Regions from separate parts of the Homo sapiens genome. Here region 1 is linked to region 2. The links are contacts of gene promoters, found by promoter capture Hi-C in human tissues and cell types (Jung and others, 2019). All regions are on one chromosome and are shown on one strand. Each heading gives the region's core, a stretch centred on a gene start or on the middle of the fragment in contact. The rest is flanking DNA. Distances are from core to core; before and after follow the strand shown.

Region 1 (4,619 bases), core at 1,998-4,497, 250 kb before region 2:
CGTGATTGACTGACTGACTGATTTTGCCTGGGAACACTCACAGGTTCTTCCCTCCATAGCCCCTAAGCGCCGTTTAGTGCATTGCTGTGCCAAGTTGCTCCCTTCTTTTGCACAGAATGGAGCATTTCCCCTTTGGGAAACTTACCAAGGCTTCTCTCCAAAGAACTCTTCTCCTTCTCCTTGGGCAGAAAGTTGTTTACCTTTCTTAACACTTCAGTGCTTAAAACTACAGAATATCAAAACTAAAGAAACCATAGAGACGATCCAGCTTTTCGCTCTTTTCTTTTTCTTTTTACTATTGTGGTAAACCACGTATAATGTAAAATTTGCCATCACTATAGAGACATTTGGTACATTCACAATGTTGTGCAATCTGGTTCTAGAATATTTTCATCATTCCAAAAAGAAATCCTATACCCATTAGCAGGTACTGTACATTCCCTCATCTTCCCAGTTCCTGGCAACCACTAATCTGCTTTCTATCTCTATGGATTTGTCTATTCTGGACACTTCACATCAGTAGACTCATATAATATGTGGTCTTATGTAACCATCTTCTTTCACTTACCGTAACATTTTCAAGGTTTGCCCGTGTTGTAGTTGTGGCATGTGTCAGCATTTCATTCCTTTTAATGGCCTTTTCTTTTCTTTTATTTTTTTGAGACAGGGTCTCACTCTGTTGCCCAGGCTGGAGTGCAGTGGCGTGATCTCGGCTCACTGCAACCTCTGCCTCCCGGGTTCAAGCGATTCTCCTGCCTCAGCCTCCGGAGTAGCTGGGGCTACAGGTGCCTGCCACCACGCCCGGCTAATTTTTGTATTTTTTTTTAGTAGAGACGGGGTTTTACCATGTTGGCCAGGCCAGTCTCAAACTCCTGACCGCAGGTTATCCGCCTTCCTCGGCCTCCCAAAGTTAATGGCCTTTTTACGGTCATCCCACATTTTGTTTCTCTACTTGTTGGTAAACATTCGGATTGTTTCCACCTTTCAGCTCTTTGCTTTTTGAAGTGCAGTCTGTGGACCAGCTGCATGAGCATCACCTGGAATCCTGTTAGAAATGCAGAATCTCAGGCCCTCCCCCTAGAAATGCTAAATCAGAATATGCAGGGTCACATGATTTCCCAGGCATTTCAAGTCTGAGATGCGCTGCCCCAGCCACGGGATTCTCAGCCTTGGCTGTACGTGGAAATCACCTACTGACTTGTTTTCCTTAGTACTGATGTTTATTCGATCCTATAAGTGGTCCATGTGTTCTGTTTGAATGAGAAAATACTTGGTGAGCACCAAAACAAGAGTAAAGCTGACTACTTCCCTTCAAATGTCCAGCCTGGCAACCAGGGCACCTACACACTTATTTGAAGGCTACAGGGAAGTGGGGAGCTCCAATACACATGGAACTGGATTTGTGCTCAGAAACTCTGAATTTTAGTTCTGCTGTGCCCCTTACTGGCTGTGTAACCTCTCTGAGCTTCTTTCTTCTTTTGAGGAAAATGGGGATAATGGTTTATCTCCTTGTTCAGGAAAAGAAGACATCCACAACCAGCCAACACCAGATCTATCTCCTTGGCAGCATCCACACTCACTTACTTTGCCTTCCCACCTCTTAACCATAGAGGAGCTTCCTATGTGCCTCTCTAAAGCCTATCCCCTCCTACTGGTATAATATACCCTCTCTTTTTGCCTACACAAGGTCACACAAGTTTTTTGCTACACTGCTCCAGCAATTCTCCCCTCTCTGTCCTGCAACAGAGAGAGGTTAAATGAGCTGTACACGCAGGTAACAACAAAGTCTCACATCTCTAGGTTGTCCTAACATTTCTTACAATAACTTTTTAAAGGGGTACCACTATTGAATATTTATATATCAATGGCCTTGCACGAAAAGAATTTTTTTTTAATTTTGAAAATTAAGGATTGAAATCATGTATACTAGGTGGTTTTGTGGTTTTCAGTCTTTAACTTTTTATTAATATGACCCAAAGCCAGAAAAACATGAAATACTTCTGATCCCATTTCCTATAAGCTACCATCTTGTTTCTTTGTTCCCCTCCGTAGAAAAACATTTGAGCTAGTTGTCTATAAGTAACTGCCTCCATCTTTTCTTCTCTCATTCTTATTCCCACTCCAGTCTGGCTCTCCATTTTAACCAAATCTGCTCTTGTCAAAATCAATGACCTCTGCATTGCTAAATCCAATGCTCAGTTCTCAGTTCTCAATTTATGGGAAGCATTTACTGCTCATCACTCCCTCTTCCTCAGTGGACTTTCTCGGCTTCCAGGGTACCACACTTTCCTGGTTTTCAAGGACATTGGTGGTCTCTCATTCTCTACCTCCCCAGCCTCTTAATTTTGGGGGGCCCCAGGGCTTAGTCTCTGGTCTCTTCTCTACCTATATTCACTGCCTTCATTATTTCATCCTACCTCCTGATTTTTAAAAATGCCATATGTAAGGCCGGGTATGGTGGCTCATGCCTGTAATCCCAGCACTTTGGGAGGCCGAGGTGGGAGGATCACAAGGTCAGGAGATCGAGACCAACCTGGCTAACACAGTGAACTCTCGTCTCTACTAAAAATACAAAAACTTAGCCGGGTGTGGTGGTGGGTGACTATAGTCCCAGCTACTCGGGAGGCTGAGGCAGGAGAATGGCGTGAACCCAGGAGGCGGAGCTTGCAGTGAGCCGAGATCACGCCACTACACTGCAGCCTGGGCGACAGAGCGAGACTCCATCTCAAAAAATAGATAAATAAATAAAAATTTAAAAATTTTTTAAAAAGCCATATGTAGTCAGACACTTCCAAATTTATATCTCAGTCTGGGTTTTTCTCCCCAAACTCTAGATTTGTATATTACTATTTACTGCATCTTCACTTGAATGCTTGATAGACATCTTAAATGTAACACATCTGAAATGGAATCCTCTCTGCCACAGCTTGGCCCATCTCAGTTGATGGCAACTCTATCTTTCCAGTTGTTCAGGCCAAAATCTCAGGTTCACTCTCGACTTCTCTTTCCCTCCGCATTGCTACCCTGGTATGAACCATCATCTTCTCTAGCCCAGATGCTGCAGCAGTCTCCTAAACGGTCTTCCTACTTCTCACCTTGCCCCCTACAGTCTATTCTCATCACAGAGGTCAACGTGATCCCTTAAAAATACAAGTCAGATTGTTTGGCTCCTCTGTTCAGATCTCTGTACTGATTCTTGCCCCATTTTATGCAAACTCAAAACTACAGTGGCTTTAGAGATCTATGTCATCTTTGCCTCCCTTCTTATCTCATCACCTCTTTGATCTCATGTACTACTCCTGTTCAGCTCACTGGCCTCCTGATTGTTTCTTGAGCATACCATGCCTTAGGGCCTTTTCACTGGCTACTGCCTCTGGCTGGAAGCTACCTCCTCACCTTCCCCACCCTACTCCAGGAGCTAACTCTCTCACTTCTCTCAAGTCTTTGCCCAGATGGCACCTTCTCAAGGAGATGTACCACAACAACCTATTTAAAATTGCAACTCCCTCTCCATCACATATTTACCAACCCCTTACCTTCTTCTATTATTTTTTCCATAGCATTTGCCAACTTCTAACATATTATCTAATTTACTTACTTATTATGGCCCTTGTTAATTGTCTCCCACGACCTCAGAAAAACTATAAGCCCCACTGGTCCCCTTCATGCTAACTACTCCCCAGACACAAATACTCTACTTTTGCTTTTAGCTGTTTCTTCTGGTAATCACCTTCATATGTCTAAAGCACCTTCTTATATTTTTTCCAGTTTTAGATATTACTTATTGACTCATAAGGATTTAGGAATATAGATTTCACTTTTTTATACCACCCATCCCACACACACACCTCCAAAGTTCTTCATTTCATCCTTCCAATGTATTGATTTCACTCATTCTGGTTAAATAAATATTCAGTATTACATTAGTATAACCATGTAAACATTATAAATGGTTTTCCACATGAATTGTGATTATGTGTTCTTTCTCCTACAACTTTTTGTTTTACCTGGACTTAATAATTGCTTCGGTTTTTCATTTGCTTCACTTTCTAGGTACCTATCACTAAATCATCCCTAAAATTCTCTACCAGATCTGAAAATTCCCCTGAGTACAACTACACACATCAGATAGTCTGTCCATTTCATTTTGGGAGCATGTTATGCCCCAGGCTTGATGATTAGCTGTTGGTCTGGAATTTCTTCCACTCTCTCCACGGTTGGAGTTCTGATTCCCAAATCTCAGGTCTCATCTTTCTCTTTCTTAGGTTACTCCTTGTTTGATAGAACATATCCCCAAATAGTTTCTTGAGAAAGAAAGCATGAGAGGCAAATTTTTTAGGCCTTATATGTCTGAAAATGAAAGCTTGGGTGGCTATAGAATCTATTGACCATCTTAATCTGTTTATTAAAAATCTTATTACAATTCTGATTTGGCCACTACACACTGTATACATGTATTAGAAAATCATTCTGTATTCTATAAGTATGTATCATTATTACTTGTCCACTAAAAATAAAAGAAATAAAATTGATTACAAAAACTTTCAAATAAATATGACAGTAGAAAGTTAATACAATAAACATTCATGTATTTACTCCCCAGATACAACAGTTGTTGT
Region 2 (4,386 bases), core at 908-3,407:
ACAAAGAAAAATATTTCTCAGGCCCCAAGCCCAAAGCTGTGCTAAACCAATTCCGAACAGATTTGGAAAAGCTGGAAAAGGAGATTACAGCCCGGAATGAGCAACTTGACTGGCCCTATGAATATCTGAAGCCCAGCTGCATAGAGAACAGTGTCACCATCTGAGCCCTAGAGTGACTCTACCTGCAAGATTTCACATCAGCTTTAGGACTGACATTTCTATCTTGAATTTCATGCTTTCCTAAAGTCTCTGCTGCTAAGGCTCTATTTCCTCCCCCAGTTAAACCCCCTACATTAGTATCCCACTAGCCCAGGGGAGCAGTAAACTTTCTCTGCAAAGACTAGATCCTTTTTTACGCTTTGCAGACCGCATAGTCACTGTCTCAACTACTCAGCTCTCCTGCTGCAGCATGAAGGCAGCCACAGACAACATGGAAATGAGTGTGACTATGTTCCAATAAAACTTTATGGACACTGAGATATGAATGTTACATCACAAAGTAGTCTTCTTTTGGTTTATTCAACCATTTAAAATGCAAAAAAAATCCACAAACAAATGTGCTTTGTTTGAGACATGCACAGCCAGGCTACAGACTGGATTTGGCCCTTGAACCCTGCACTAGCCTGAGGCCCTGACCCTACTTCCAAAACATCCAAGATCATGGAGCAGGGGGATTTCTTAGAAAAATCAGCTTACCTCAGCTAACTCTCCATTCCCAGGAACTAACCTTCATGCCTGGTGGCCAATGTACAAATTCCTGACTCAGTTCTTTGGCAAATTCCTTCCACCCATATTTCTCCTATTCACCCATGTACCCCAAAAGTCCCTGAATAAGAATCATGTTTTTGGGGCAGAATACAAACCACTGCCCCAAAATGGCTTCTTTCTCCAAACAGTCCCAGATGAAAGGCACATAATTCATGTCTTAAGGCTACTTTTCCAGCCCCTTTAATACTCTGGGATCTATGTGTTTCCCACATTCCAAGTTATCTTTCACAAGCCTTTTAAGAACAACATGCACAAAATAAATGGACAAGAACTACAAAGTTATTCTAGCCAATGATAGTGTTTATTTGTTAGGTCCTGGGGTCTCAAGGTCAAATGATCCCTCTCAATTATTCTGAGGTCACTGTCCTCACTAGAGTGGGTACAACTTGCTCACTGCAAAACTGTGTTCTTCAAACATCCCTACTTCTTTTCTTTTCTTTTTTTTTTTTTTTTTAGAAGTAGTCTCTATCGCCCAGGCGGGAATGCAGTGGCGCCATCTCAGCTCACTGCAACCTTCGCCTCCCGGGTTCAAGGGATTATCCCGCCTCACCATCCCGAGTGGCTGGGATCACAAGCTCATGCCACCACATCCAGCTAATTTTTGTAATTTTTAGTAGAGACAGGGTTTCGCCATGTTGACCTGGCTGGTCTCGAACTCCCGACCTCAGGTGATCCGCCCGCCTCGACATTCCTATTTCTAAATAATTATTACAGATCTGTCACTCACCAGTTAAACATACAAACGGCTTTTTTGGAGGGGATGACCTATTTATATTTTTAAATCTTATATCCTACCTTATTCAAAAGTCCTATCAGTTTTCCTAGTTTAGAGAAGCAAAGTGACATTTTTGTGTACATTTAACAGGACTGCTTACCTTCACAACCTGCTCAGTCGGCTTTCCCTGGACTTCTCCTAACCGCCCATTTTTCCTGGATTTGGCACCGAGAGTTACAGTATTTCACGTGCGATGATAAAATGTTACTTAGGAGAAACAGTTCCAATACCAAGAAACTTCAGCAATTTTAAAGCATTTTAAAGCCACAAAACCATGCCCGATCCCCAAAAGGGGGTCCTAACTCCTTTACACTGTCAGAATCTCAATTTTAAAAGGGAGGAGTAGAGAAGAGATAGAAACGCTCTCTGTTGGTGAAAATCTGTCTTACTTACCATTTCCCCAACACAGGAGAGACTAAGGAATTTCAGGTAAAAATCAGATGGCTCCAATCCTCCGATACTAAGAGCCCATCGCCCCAGTTCCCAGGAGTTCCGCCAGTTAGACTTTTTCCCCCATGGCCTCGCTAAGGCTAGTTCCTCGTCACGTGACGTGACAGGCTTGGTCACGTGACATACCAGCTCCTTCCATTCCCGTGTGCGGGGGGAGGGGGACCAACAAACCGGAGGCCCTCGCTCTTCCAATACTCACGCCCTAGCTACAGAGGTCAAGGAAGGTTTCCCCAGGAGCAGTTTTGGTTTCAGACGGCGCCGTCTCCCGCGAAAGTCCTGAGAGGAGCCCAGCCTTTTCCGCCTGCCGCCCCCGGATGGGATGGTTGAGGCCGGGGCCACGCCCCCTCTGCCCCCCTGCGAGGGCATCCTGGGCTTTCTCCCACCGCTTTCCGAGCCCGCTTGCACCTCGGCGATCCCCGACTCCCTTCTTTATGGCGTCGCTCCTGTGCTGTGGGCCGAAGCTGGCCGCCTGCGGCATCGTCCTCAGCGCCTGGGGAGTGATCATGTTGGTGAGGGGACTCCCCGGCAAGGATCGGAGAGGGCCTGAGGGGCTCCGGGCTGGGAGGGCTGGGAGGCGAGGAAACTCTGGGCCGCAGGCAGGCCGGAGGGGCCGGGGATCTACAGGCCCCGGAGAAGGAGACAGACTGAAATTGAAAAATGGGAACTGTTCGAGACCAGCCTGACCAACATGGTGAAACCCCGTCTCCAATAAAAATACAAAAATTAGCCGGGCGTGGTGGCGCCCGCCTGTAATCCCAGCTACTCAGGAGGCTGAGGCAGGAGAATCGCTTGAATCCGGGAGGCGGAGGGTGCAGTGAGCCGAGATCGCGCCACTGCACTCCAGCCTGGGTGACAGAGCGAGACTCCGTCCCCAAAGAAAAAGAAAAAAGGGAACTGGAGCGGAGGGCCCTGGAGTGGGAGGAGCCAGGGCTGGTAAAGGTGGAGACCCCTCAAGGTAGGAGAAACAAGAGCGGGGTGCCTGAGAGGTGCTTGAGTTGAATGGAGGACATGGGAGGAAAAGAGAGTGCTTGTTCCAGAAATGTGTAGCTGGGCCTTGTTTTCCCAGTAATCCACCCACCGCCACTTCAAGAAGAAATGATATGAAGAAGTGCCGGTTCTCCCTCCCCTCTTCCGCACTGTCCCGTGATGATGACGCCTCCAGAGAGGACGATAATCTGGGTTCCTGGGAGAGATGGCTTGGTCACTATTCCCACCCTTGCCTCGACCACTTGTCTCAATGTCACCACCTCACGCCCTGTTCCAGGTGGCTGAGTCCGAATCCAGTAACCACCACCTCGTTTTGGTTAATCTCAGGCTCGGGTGTTGTAGCAACATTGGAAATGGGAGGGGTTTACGAAGTGAACATGAGGTCAGGTGCCTGAATTCAACAGTCTACCCATTCCCCTTTTCCAGATAATGCTCGGAATATTTTTCAATGTCCATTCCGCTGTGTTGATTGAGGACGTTCCCTTCACGGAGAAAGATTTTGAGTAAGTATTCGGGTGGGGGAGGCGGGCTGGGAGCAGGTGGGAGGTGGCGAGGCCTAGGGTCAGAATTACGTCTGGGAGGCCCGGTGCTTAGGGCCCCTAGGTTAGAGGACTTGGAGAGGAGAGCGGCTTTCTTGAGAATGTGGTTAGGAGCCAGGGAGTCAGACCTCAGCGGCCATCCCAAACCCACCACCTTAGGTGTGACCTCTTTAGGTATTTTACTTTTCTGTGCTTCTCAGTCCACCTCTGCAAAATGGCTATGACAGATCTCACCCCATAGGATGGTCAAGAAGATTGAATAAAGTAATACACGTAACAGCGCCTAAACAGGTGTCGGGCACATAGTGCTCAGAAAATGTTGGCTCCTATTAAAGTTTGACCCCTTTGCTTCATTCCCACCCCCAGGAATGGCCCCCAGAACATATACAACCTTTACGAGCAAGTCAGCTACAACTGTTTCATCGCTGCAGGCCTTTACCTCCTCCTCGGAGGCTTCTCTTTCTGCCAAGTTCGGCTCAATAAGCGCAAGGAATACATGGTGCGCTAGGGCCCCGGCGCGTTTCCCCGCTCCAGCCCCTCCTCTATTTAAAGACTCCCTGCACCGTGTCACCCAGGTCGCGTCCCACCCTTGCCGGCGCCCTCTGCGGGACTGGGTTTCCCGGGCGAGAGACTGAATCCCTTCTCCCATCTCTGGCATCCGGCCCCCGTGGAGAGGGCTGAGGCTGGGGGGCTGTTCCGTTTCTCCACCCTTCGCTGTGTCCCGTATCTCAATAAAGAGAATCTGCTCTCTTCAGCCCTGTGTCTGTGCTTGAGTGGGGGCGAGCACGGGGCTGAGACTAGAGGTCGGCCTCTGCCTGGAAAGTCCCGATGTCTGAGCGGAAGTGGAGCGAAGTGTGGCGCGGAAGT

Evidence for each region. Contacts are between HindIII fragments. The study calls those that stand out against the background at their distance.
Region 1: a contact is called between a fragment that was not itself captured here and the fragment with the promoter of RNASEK-C17orf49 in region 2, in 2 of the 25 tissues and cell types used here (H1 embryonic stem cells and lymphoblastoid cells).

The regions. Positions count from the first base shown.
Region 1 is chr17:6,762,686-6,767,304 of GRCh38, forward strand. All of the region lies in intron 5 of XAF1 (XIAP associated factor 1), which reads left to right. Among named protein-coding and RNA genes, the nearest start is that of XAF1, 8.9 kb to the left of the region's middle. The HindIII fragment of the contact is 6,608 bases long and covers 1-4,619 here.
Region 2 is chr17:7,010,260-7,014,645 of GRCh38, forward strand. It overlaps RNASEK-C17orf49 (RNASEK-C17orf49 readthrough), which reads left to right and starts at 2,158. Exons shown (of 8, transcript NR_037717.1): 1 at 2,158-2,498; 2 at 3,407-3,483; 3 at 3,886-4,386. It overlaps RNASEK (ribonuclease K), which reads left to right and starts at 2,365. Exons shown (of 3, transcript NM_001004333.5): 1 at 2,365-2,502; 2 at 3,407-3,483; 3 at 3,886-4,273. The coding sequence starts at 2,425. The coding sequence ends at 4,027. It overlaps ALOX12-AS1 (ALOX12 antisense RNA 1), which reads right to left and starts at 2,075. Exons shown (of 3, transcript NR_040089.1): 1 at 1,937-2,075. It overlaps ALOX12 (arachidonate 12-lipoxygenase, 12S type), which reads left to right. Exons shown (of 14, transcript NM_000697.3): 14 at 1-495. The coding sequence ends at 164. RefSeq lists enhancers at 1,726-2,346, 2,426-2,545, 2,626-2,805, 3,985-4,386, 4,236-4,365. The HindIII fragment of the contact is 15,519 bases long and covers 1-4,386 here.